Linked DNA regions of Homo sapiens: regions 1, 2 and 3 are each linked to region 4. Evidence: promoter capture Hi-C in 16 types of primary human blood cells and fetal thymus (Javierre and others, 2016). All regions are on one chromosome and are shown on one strand. The core of a region is centred on a gene start or on the middle of the fragment in contact, and the rest is flanking DNA. Distances in the headings are between cores, read along the strand shown. Region 1 holds the start of EIF3M (eukaryotic translation initiation factor 3 subunit M). Region 2 holds the start of HTATIP2 (HIV-1 Tat interactive protein 2). Region 3 overlaps HTATIP2 (HIV-1 Tat interactive protein 2). Region 4 holds the start of LIN7C (lin-7 cell polarity scaffold C).

Evidence for each region. Contacts are between HindIII fragments. The CHiCAGO score rates a contact against its expected background, and 5 or more counts as called.
Region 1: a contact is called between a fragment that was not itself captured here and the fragment with the promoter of LIN7C in region 4, in 1 of 17 cell types (non-activated CD4 T cells). The highest score is 7.8, in non-activated CD4 T cells.
Region 2: the fragment with the promoter of HTATIP2 here is called in contact with the fragment with the promoter of LIN7C in region 4 in 4 of 17 cell types (non-activated CD4 T cells, total B cells, activated CD4 T cells and 1 more); the score reaches 11.6 in non-activated CD4 T cells.
Region 3: a contact is called between a fragment that was not itself captured here and the fragment with the promoter of LIN7C in region 4, in 2 of 17 cell types (total CD4 T cells and total CD8 T cells). The highest score is 7.9, in total CD4 T cells.

Annotation. Positions count from the first base shown.
Region 1 is chr11:32,581,537-32,584,236 of GRCh38, forward strand. It overlaps EIF3M (eukaryotic translation initiation factor 3 subunit M), which reads left to right and starts at 2,295. Exons shown (of 11, transcript NM_006360.6): 1 at 2,295-2,393. The coding sequence starts at 2,352. RefSeq lists enhancers at 2,006-2,658, 2,301-2,450 and a silencer at 2,081-2,140. The HindIII fragment of the contact is 1,283 bases long and covers 727-2,009 here.
Region 2 is chr11:20,362,435-20,365,134 of GRCh38, forward strand. It overlaps HTATIP2 (HIV-1 Tat interactive protein 2), which reads left to right and starts at 1,280. Exons shown (of 5, transcript NM_001098522.2): 1 at 1,280-1,998. The coding sequence starts at 1,804. RefSeq lists silencers at 1,281-1,700, 1,487-1,629. The HindIII fragment of the contact is 1,649 bases long and covers 180-1,828 here.
Region 3 is chr11:20,383,645-20,386,344 of GRCh38, forward strand. HTATIP2 (HIV-1 Tat interactive protein 2) reads left to right here. Exons shown (of 5, transcript NM_001098522.2): 5 at 1-138. Among named protein-coding and RNA genes, the nearest start is that of PRMT3, 2.7 kb to the right of the region's middle. RefSeq lists a silencer at 1,266-1,466 and an enhancer at 1,399-1,900. The HindIII fragment of the contact is 813 bases long and covers 845-1,657 here.
Region 4 is chr11:27,505,494-27,508,193 of GRCh38, forward strand. LIN7C (lin-7 cell polarity scaffold C) reads right to left here and starts at 1,276. Exons shown (of 5, transcript NM_018362.4): 1 at 1,223-1,276. The coding sequence starts at 1,259. It overlaps BDNF-AS (BDNF antisense RNA), which reads left to right and starts at 1,359. Exons shown (of 7, transcript NR_033315.1): 1 at 1,359-1,405. RefSeq lists enhancers at 837-2,036, 1,193-1,322, 1,393-1,682. The HindIII fragment of the contact is 9,378 bases long and covers 1-2,700 here.

The DNA of each region.
Region 1 (2,700 bases), core at 118-2,617, 5.1 Mb after region 4:
TTTCCCTGGGTGTTCTTTTACTTCACAAGGATCACAGAATGAAAAAAAAAATAACAATAGTAAAAAAGAGACAAGTCTTTTAAATATTTGATAAAATGGTATTGTATTGTTGAGTTTGTATTCCTCGAACTTTGCAATAATAAGGCGAGGGGAGGAGCCCAGGGATTATTCCTTCAGAATCAACTGGTATTTCCTGATGATCTGCTGTGGGCTGGGCACTGAGGTGGGTGCGGAAATGCAGGGTGAACATGACACAGGTTCCCTGCCTTCAGTTTCACTTTCCACATTGTTAAGGCTATTCCATGCAAGAATGAATCCTTTCAAATTTAGTCTAGCCAGATGTTTTGTGTCCTCTATCCCCTCAACCTTGTTTTTTTCCTTTGCTTGGCATTTATTTTATATTGAAGTATAATTGTGGTATCAATAAACTGCACATTTTTGAACTGCACACTTTGAAAAATGTTATATATGTATACAATCATGACACAATCACAGTCAAAATAATGAACACATCCATAACCCCCAAAAACTTCCTCAAGCCCCTCTGTATCCATCTTTCCCCCCGCCTTACCCAATCCCTGCCCCCAGGCAACAGCAATCTATAATGCTGTCATTATAGTTTCTACTTTCTAGAGTTTTATATAAATGGAATCATACAGTATGATGATTAACTGAACAAAATTATTTTGAATTATTTTGGGATTGTCAACTAAAGAAAAAAAATCAAGCTTTTATTTTAAGAGATGGAGTCTCACTCACTTTGTCACCCAGGCTGAAGAGACTGAAAAAAAAAAAAGATTCATCTGTGTTTTTGCATGTATCAATAATTCATCCTTTTTTGTTGCACAGCAGTATTCCATTAAGCAGATGTATAACAATTTTTTGATCCACTTCATTCATCTATTGATGAACATTTGGGTTGTTTCCTTTTTTTTGGCTATTGAAAATAAAGTGTTAACTTTTTGGAAACTGTCTCCTGAAAAAGCTAAACATAAATTTACTAAATAAGCCACTGATTCCTCTCATAGGTACATACCTAAGAGAAATATACGTACACACAAAATCTTGTGCACTAACGTTCATGGAAACATTATTCATAATAGCCAAAAAATGGAGACAACCCAAGTGTCCACCAACTGATGAACAAATCAACACAATGTGGTATATCCATAACAATGCAATATTATAAGCAATAAATAGGAATATAGGAGGGATACATGGACGAACCTTGAAAACATTATGCTAAATGAAGTAAGTCTGACTTAGGCCACCGTGTATTTTGTGATTCCACTTACATGAAATGTCCAGAAAAGGCAAATTCATAGAGACAAAATGTAGTGTTTGCCAGGGGCTGGAGAGAGGTGGGGCCGGGGGTCTGGGGAGTGATTGCTGATGGGTAGTTTCTTTTGTAGGTGATGAAAATGTTCTAAAATTAAATAGTAGTGATGGTTGTGCAACTCTGAAAATACTAAAAACTACTGAATTGTGTATTTATTTTATGAGACGGAGTCTCGCTCTGTCGCCCAGGCTGGAATGCAGTGGCATGATCTGGGCTTACTGCAACCTCCTTCTCCCAGGTTGAAGTGATTCTCCTGCCTCAGCCTCCCGAGTAGCTGGGATTACAGGCGCGCACCACTATGCCCCGGTAATTTTTGTATTTTTAGTAGAGACGGGGTTTTGCCATGTTGCCCAGGCTGGTCTCCAGTTCCTGACCCCAAGTGATCCGCCCACCTCGGCCTCCCACAGTGCTGGGATTACAGGCGTGAGATCCACTGCGCCCAGCCAAAGCTGCTATTTTTTAAAAGCGGCAATGAACATTCTTGTACAAGTCTTTGTACGGACATACAGTTTGGGTAGAAGAATAGCTGGGTCATATGCTGGGTGGATACTGAACTTTTTCAGAAACTGCCGCTCCTCTGCAAAGTGACTGCACCATTTTATGTTCCCAACAGCAGTACAGGAGAGTTTCAGGTCTACACAAACCCATCCATACTTGGTAAGACCCAACAAGCTTAACATTTCAAGGGAAGGTGGACTTAGGGAGGCGCCAGCGGGAGGCAACATCAATGCAGTTAGCTACACGGGCCTGAAAACTGGAGGCCGCGACAAGCGTCGCTGAGTGGAGGCCCAGTAAGTCCCACCCACTAGGCCAGCCCGAGCGCGTCTGCCACGCCCTGCTGCATTCCGCGGCGAGAGCGCGCGATAGGATTGGCTCTCAAGGCCCCGCCCCAACAGGTCGCCGCTCAGGGTGACCCGGAAGCAGTTGCGCCAGCAGCGTCGCGCGGCCCAGTTCCCTTTTCCGGTCGGCGTGGTCTTGCGAGTGGAGTGTCCGCTGTGCCCGGGCCTGCACCATGAGCGTCCCGGCCTTCATCGACATCAGTGAAGAAGATCAGGTGTGCTTCGGTCTACGGGTGCCGCCACGGTGGGGTGGGGGATGTCCTAGTAGCGCAAGGGACCGCTGCCGAGCCTGGGCCGGGCGGCCGGGGCTGACACCCGCAGCTGTTCTACACGCGAGAATGGGGAGGCCGGTGGCTGGGGCGCGCGTTCCTGGCCTCGATTCGCACCAGCTCGCCGGCCGGCGGTCCCAGCGCGGGGCCCGACGCTTCACCGCCAGCTCCCTGGTCGGCGTCGGGACTCATTTCTGACGACATAGTACTTTTAGACTGATGAGGAATGATGTCTGCTTCCGTCCGTCAAATG
Region 2 (2,700 bases), core at 30-2,529, 7.1 Mb before region 4:
TTGATAAATGAATTACTAGGACAGTGTTTGCTGACAAGGTTTAACATTGCATTCTTGTAGAAAACCTTTAGGAACTCAAAGGGAAGAGTCCAGGCACTGTGACAGGCCAGTGGGGAATGAACCACACTGCTCTATATTAATCAAGCTTTTTTATTGCAAACAACAGAATATATCTGGTAAGCTTATACAGCACAGGAATTTATCAGAAGAATAACAGGAAGTACTGTATTCACAACAGTCTCTGAAAACAGGCAGGAATTTAAGACAAGATCAGACCATCAGATGGCTGGTGGATCATATGATGCCATAATCCTATACCCTTGCCCCAACCAACCCACATATATCTCAGGCCTTCACTGCATCTTTTCATTACTCCTCCAAAACTGAAAACCTATGCGTGAGCCTCTGGCTTGCTGAGCCTAGGCAAAGCCTACATATAATAACTCCCATGGAGATGGAAGAGGCAATGTGTTTCATTGGCTTCTAGATGGGAGGTGGGGCCCCCAAATGACCAATGTTCCCAACAAAACCTGAACAATCTGAAATTATTCAGATTTCTGCTTGTCATTCTAACCTCTGTTCAGGACTTCCAAGATCCAGGACAGGCCCAGTGTAGATACCTGTGTCCCAAACCACTGATCTGGGCTAGGAAGACTGAATCACAGGTGTGGAAGGTCACCCGGGTTCAACCATCTAGGTGATGAATTAGGCCAGGACCTGGGCAGGTAGACCATTTATTCTGGGGAGATATGATGCGAGCTTGAATTACATGGGAGAAATATTTGTAAGGCAGATGGGATAACAGGACTTGATAAGTCTGTAGTGTGGAAAGGCTAGAAAAGAAAGGAATCAAAGGAATCCTGATTTCTGACTTGACAGGGTAGAAGGAGGTGTGTGTGTGTGTGCGTGTGTGTGTGTATGTTTATGTAGGGACAGTGACACCCAAGAGAGGCTAGGAATAGGTTTGTTTTATTCCTGTTTGGGGTGGTTGGGTAGGCAGGGTTAAGTTTTTGACTTGGTGAATTTGAGATGATGGCCAATATACAATTGACATTCCAGCTGGGGGGACCATTGAAGATCAAGTCTGGCAAGTCTACTAGCTGGCGCCTGGGTGAGCTGAGCCCAGCAGGTGAGGGAAAACGCGGGAAGAGGGTCTTGCAGATTCCAAACTTAGGAAGGGTCGCGGCTCCGCGCACGTGCTCTCGGGGTCACCTTCCCCGCGCCTGTGAGGGTGCCAGGAGTTCGTCTCCAGGTCCCGCCCCTGTGGGCGGGGCGAGGCAGCGTCGCCGCGAGGCCACCCGGAAGACCAAGCCGGGTAGGCGCTGTCTCCGTCGCCTCCAACCCCCCCGGTCCGACCAGGGAAGGTGGGATGCTCTGATGGCCGGGCCTGCGGCGCTGAGCGCGGCGGCGGCGGCTGCTCTGGCGGCCGCCCTGCTCCTGCTGCGTCGTGAGGACCCGGGGCCGGGGGCTGGCCCCAGGTAACCCCTCCGCGTATGGGACCGAGCTGGGCCAGGTCTCCTGGCCGGGCCGGGGATACCGTGGGGTATGCCCAGTGATGCCAGCAGCTTGTGGCACCTGGGCGCACCCTCCAGCTCGGGCCCCTTCCGATGGGTCTGCTGGCTCAGGTGCGGGCGATGGCCGGGGAGCCGCGCCCCGCACGTGACTCAGCACTTTCCCCAGAGCCCGGACTGCGGAGAACAATATCCTCCTCCCTAACAGATAAACAGCCCTTGTTCCTCGGGATAAGGACTGGCAGTCCCCTGACACCCTAAGACCGGCATCTGTCGATGTTATTTCCCCAGCATGGCCGAAACAGAAGCCCTGTCGAAGCTTCGGGAAGACTTCAGGATGCAGAATAAATCCGTCTTTATTTTGGGCGCCAGCGGAGAAACCGGCAGAGTGCTCTTAAAGGAAATCCTGGAGCAGGGCCTGTTTTCCAAAGTCACGCTCATTGGCCGGAGGAAGCTCACCTTCGACGAGGAAGCTTATAAAAATGTGGTGGGTATTTCAGCTGGGACTCAAATGGACCCCCAGGATTCTGCGAGGTGAACATATTTCATGCCTAAAGGCTGAATACTGCCCTGCCAGTGGTGGGGGTAGTGAGAGGCCATCAAAACTTGGCCAAGATTGGTCTGTGAGAGTCCCTCCCAGAAGTCTGACTCCTGGATTGTAGCCCAGGTGTGCCTCCCTCCCGCTCATTGTGTGGTCTTGGGCAAAGCCCTTCTCTCCATCTGCAACCCTATAAAGCTGGGTCTGGGTTGTAATGGGGGTGGGGGCTGGTGAGACAGAAGAGCACTGTTTTCAGGGTCATACAAGCTGTATTCTAGAGGCAGCCCTGGTGACCTTGAGAATTTTCTCAGCCACTTTGCTGATTTTGTCAACCTGCGCACTTCACACTAATATTGTCAGGGATTCTGAAACTGCTTTGCAGAGTGAGATAGGTCTATGGCAGTGAAAGGTGGGATTATTCACTTACAAGAATTTGCCCTGCCTGACTTCCCAGGCTTGTGTCTGTAAATCGGATATTCCCTTCACTCTAAGTTAAAGGTTTTTTTTTTTTTTTTTCTGAGACGGAGTCTCACTCTGTCCCCCAGGCTGGAGTGCAGTGGCACGATCTCGGCTCAGTGCAACCTCTGCCTTTCAGGTTCAAGCGATTCTTCTGCCTCAGCCTCCCGAGTAACTGGAACTACAGGCGTGCGT
Region 3 (2,700 bases), core at 1-2,500, 7.1 Mb before region 4:
GTGCTAATTCACTACATGTAATTGTGTAAGTAAACATTGTGCCTTTACTACTTCTTTATGTAATAGAAGTTATATACCTAAGCTTATATAATACATGGGGAGGATTAAATAAAGGAATAAAGATGAATGGACAACTCCTGGGTGCCTCTTAGATTGCTTGAAAATGCCCATGTAGTGTGATATGCAGCATTTCAGCCTATGGGGTGATATAATAGCAGCTAATATTTACCAAATGCTTGCTAAGTACCAGTCTTTACATGTGTTATCTGTGCTTTAACCCTCTTATAAACAATCCTTATAAAGTGATACTATCATGATCTTCATGTCTTAGATGGGGAAATGAGGCTCACTGTGGTTAAGTGCCTTGCTCAAGAGTCCAAATCTGAAGAACTGAAGCAAAGAAATGGCAGAGTCAGGATTCTAACCCAGGTCTGCCTGATCCCATAGATCCCATATATCGTGTTTTTAAGCACCCTGCAAAAGCATTCTGTTCCCGTATATTTCCAGGTAGTTCCAGTTGATTGTTACTACATGTTGTGGATGAACAAAATCGAAATATTTGGGTTTCTCCTTTGTTCTAGTGATTAATTACTAAATGTTCACATAGCCAGTAAAATTCTATGCCACCAAACTTTAAAGTGCTCATGCTGCTGCACTTTAAAAATTAAGGCAAAGGAAGATGCAGAAGGAAGGGTCAAAGCCAAGAGGAACATACATTGCTAATTTCCATCATAGAACAAAAGATGTTAATGTAACTTGTCTTAACGTCTGCACCAGGGAAGCAAAGTGATTCGAGGGACTCAGTCAATTCTTCCAAGGCCTACTGTATGCCAAGTACATTTCAAGCTTCAGTATACACTGGAGGATAAAGGCCATTCTCCTTAATTTGGAGTGTATATCCTTAGAAGGGAGAAGACATTCCCAGTGTCAGTCACCCAAAAAAGAGGCATATTTTAGGGCAGGGTGGGATATTGAAATGTGAGCTTTAAAAGGAAATGAAATATCTTCCTTCTGCCAGGTGGGGTTCCCTGGGAGTTGGACTTTGAAGAGCCTAAGTGTGTTGTTTTGATGGTGAAAAAGCATGGGCCGAGGATATGTTGAGGCCTCTGGGCTCTGAAAGCAGCTAAACCCAGTGGCCTGTTTTAAGTTATTCTCCTTATATTATTTCCTTACTCACAAACCTTCGAGCAGGTTTCATTCAACATGTTATTCTGGTCTCAGTAGTGATGTGGGATAATGAGGAAGGGTCTGTGTTCACCTTTGGAGTAGAGAGAAAAGCAGCCCTCTCTTGAGCTCTGCATTGTGGTGAGATATGAACTTACTAAGGAACAAGACTCTGGCCCAATCACTCCTCCACAATGGGTGTTAACTTGTTTTATTGTCAACACTGAATGGACTGGGTGTTCCATTTAGTACTAAGGGATTCAGGAAGTTTTCCACCAAATGTTACACAGACAGAAAAAGTTTATGTTGGAAGGATGAAGGGAAAAGTTGGATGGGCCCAGGTAATCAAGTGTTCATTAATTCATTCAGCAAATGCTTATTCAGTGCCTTTCATGTGCCACTGAGCACACAGGCACTGGGGATGCATCCATGAACGATGACTCCAACTCAAGAGAGCCAGCAGCTATTCTGGCAATGTCCTAGGATGTAAGAAAGCTTCAAAATTAATATTTGGGCCGGGTGCGGTCAATCACGCCTGTAATCTCAGGACTTTGGGAAGCCGAGGTGGGCAGATCACTTGAGGTCAGGAGTTCAAGACCAGTCTGACCAACATGGTGAAACCCTGTCACTACTAAAAATATAAAAATTAGCCAGGCATGGTGGTGAGCACCTATAATCCCAGCTACTTGGGAGGCTGAGGCAGGAGAATCGCTTGAACCTGGGAGGTGGAGGTTGCAGTGGGACAAGATCGCACCACTGCACTCCAGCCTGGGCAACCGAGCGAGACTCTGTCTCAAAGAAAAACAAAAACAAAAACTAATATTTAATGGATTCTGTCCTCTAGGAATTTACAATTAAGGGAGAAAAGTACATTTAGAAGTACATTTAGCAATAATATAAGGCATCATTTTTATTCAGTGAATACATTCAGTATCTATTAATACTATGGGCCAGGCCACATATTATGTGCCAGAGAAATGAAAGTAAAGAGACATGGCCCTTACTTACCCTTATTGTTCAGTGCTGTGGGGTATCACCAAAAAAGAAAAAAAAATCAAGTAAGCAAATGGTGGGTGCTAAGAAACTAACAGGATACTCCTGAAATAATGGTGGAAACTATTTTAGAAATGGCCTGAGGAAAGTGTTTCTGGTTGAGACCAAAGGGACCTACCCATGTGTAGAACATTCAATGATTAGCAGTAAATAAAAGGCTTAAGGGTGGGACCCAAGGTGAAGGGTTCCATTGGAAAGAGGCAGGATTATGCAGGGCCTGATAGGCCAATTAGATAAACTCTGCTAGAGCCTGGGGCACTCCCTCCTAAGCAAGAATTCTGGGCCGGGCGGTGGCTCGCGGGCAGGTGGATCACCTGAGGTCGGGAGTTCCAGACCAGCCTGACCAACATGGAGAAACCCTGTCTCTACTAAAAATCCAAAATCAGCCGGACGTGGTGGCGCATGCCTGTAATCCCAACTACTCGGGAGGCTGAGGCAAGAGAATCGCTTGAACCCGGAAGGTGGAGGTTGCGGTGAGCCTGA
Region 4 (2,700 bases), core at 26-2,525:
GGCAAGTCTTCCCAGAGTAGCTAGTCCTCTAAAATGATGCTTTAATAGGCTTAACGGAAACAATCTCATTTACAGTGAGGCTTCCAAATGGTGAACACGGTAAAGAGCAAATCAGCAACATTAAGTGCACATTTGTTTGTGGGAAGGCATTAGGAAAGAGGTTTTTCTAAGTACAGTAATTCTAAAAATGTGTTTTCTTAGGGAACAATAGTAATATTTAGACTAATTGCAAATGTTAATATGTGCAATATAATTTCAGTCTCCATCCTACATATACATTTTTTTTTACCACCAGTACTCAAAATGTTTATTTGTACTTCTCAATTCCTATCAATGATTTCTAATGCTGGTGTATGAAAAGCATGCTTGAAATTGTTTGAAATAAAGGACTTAGGGACAGAGTGGAATGCTGGAAATCTGTAAAAGGACTGGAAACGCTGGAATGCTGGAAATCATGGTAGGCGCATAGCCAGTTATTTTCGTAGGCTTCTCTATCTCTAATTACTCAGCAGAGGTGGTTTTATTTTCCTTGACAGTCTGCTCTAGGAAGCAATCAGCCAACCAGTTTGCAATTGTAGGGTTTGTAAGAAATGAAAAACACTGCACCTGCAAGTGTTTTAGCATCTACCACTATTCGGCTTACTTACGTAACCTCCTTCCCAAGACCAAGTCAGTAGGATTGTTTTTAAAGCAACCTCTCCATTTCTAGGAGGGGCACAAAAGCTAGCAAATACCCCAACCCGAATACAAGCGAGGTTGTGGAGAAAGTAATGAAGGAGTTTGTGTGCAAACAGCGGGGAAAGGAGGTTCTGTTGAATTGTACCGTGTGTCCGTTCTCGTGCTGTACAGGCAATGAGTGTAGTCTGTGCGAACCGGGTGTGTGACGTTTGCTTTTCGGGTGTACGGGTCTCCGAATGCTGCTTCTGCTGTGCTCACCAAGGGAGCGCGTGTGCGGCGTGTGTCTGCGAAGCGGGCAGGTTGTGTTTAGTTGTGCTGTGCCTTGGAACAGTCCGTGTGAACAGAGGAGGGCTTACGGTTAACAGACAAAATACCGTAAGCGCCCTTCCTAGAGCCAGGCACAGAGACAACGGCGGCCTCTGGCGCCGGCACAAGGGACAGCGTGGCCCGGATCTCAGAGCCTGGGTCACTCCTCCTCCCCTCCAGCGACACAGCACTCCCCCAACCCTTCCGCCCACCTCCGCCGAGCCTCGGCTGCACTCACCTCTCTCCAGCCGCACGGGTTCCCCTAGCGCCGCCATCTTCTCCCTTAACCTACAGACCCACAGGAAATGACGACAGAAGGGCTGAGGTGGGGGGGCGGGGCCTAGGGGAAGCCGGAAAAGTGAGTACCGGCTAGTATCGCGAGATCAGGAAGGTGGCCGAGTGTGTCGCCGCGGCCATCAGGGTAAGGGTACCTGGACTTGCGGCTTTTTAGGTCGGCCTGGCTCCGCTCCTTCCGCGGTGACGAGGTCCCCCGGCCTCCTAGGGTTGGGAAGAGCTGCTTTCCTGACTCTCGTTCCCTGCCTCAGGCTTCCCTTATCCCAATCGCTTCGAACCCTTGGCTCAGCGTAGAGGAGTCAAGCCTGGATTCTAGTCCCACCTTGCCCATTAGCAGCTCTGTGACCTGGGACTGTTCACTTACCCTCTCTCAGCCTCAGTTTCCGCATCTGTACAACGAGAGGTCCTATCTCTTAGGTCCTTACAATTTTTAAACTCTGGGATTCGGTGGCAATTAAATGTGTAATGACATGTTGTCAGTTCTCAATTTGTGACAGCATTGCTTTAAATTTAAAAATCCACGGCTTGAATCTTCCCTCCAAATCTGTTAAGGGGTGGAAAGTACAAAGAGCATGAAACATATCTGGGTGAGGGAGAGAACAAGGTGCTTTGGTGCACCACAAAGTAACAATTTTATAAGCAGCTGATTCTTATAAAATCTTAAGTAAATGAAATATTGTGAAGCAAATAATATTCTTAATGCATTACAGATTTTTGAGCCACTTCTGAAATTTTCGCGAACCAAGAAGAATTTTAGTACTTGGATTTGACTAACATTTATCCAAGCCCTTAGTCTGTACTGATACTGTGGTAGGTGTGTTTACATCCAGCATTTCAACACTTCATGATGGGACTGTTTTAATAACCTGTTTGCCCCTGGTCCACCCTTTCCATTCACCTTTAGTATTTTCTTCTCCAAATCCATCATGGATGCCACCACTATGCTCCTTTTTCTCCCCTTGAATTCTGATTTCATCATCACAAGTTCTGTTCAGAAACTTTCAATGGTTTCTCTCCTGTTTCCTATTTCTAAAGCCTTGCATACTCTGACCCTAACTCATCCAACTAACTTCATTTCTCATTACCACTAAGTGCAACCACCACTTCAGTCCAGATAGTATAGTTTCAACCATATTTATTCCTGATTCCAAGTCTTTTTGTTTGTTTTAGAGACAGAGTTTCTCTCTGTTGTCCAGACTGGAGTGCAGTGGTGCAATCACAGCTCAAGAGAGCCTCCTGTCTCAGTCTTGCCAGTAGCGAGGACTACAGGCAAGCACCACCATGCCTGGCAAATTTTTAAATTTTTAGTAGAGATGGGGGTCTTGCTATGTTGCCCAGGCTGGTCTCAAACTCCTGAGCTCAAGCAGTCCTCCTGCTTTGGCCTCCCGAAGTGCTGGGATTACAGGCGTGGGCCACTGTGCC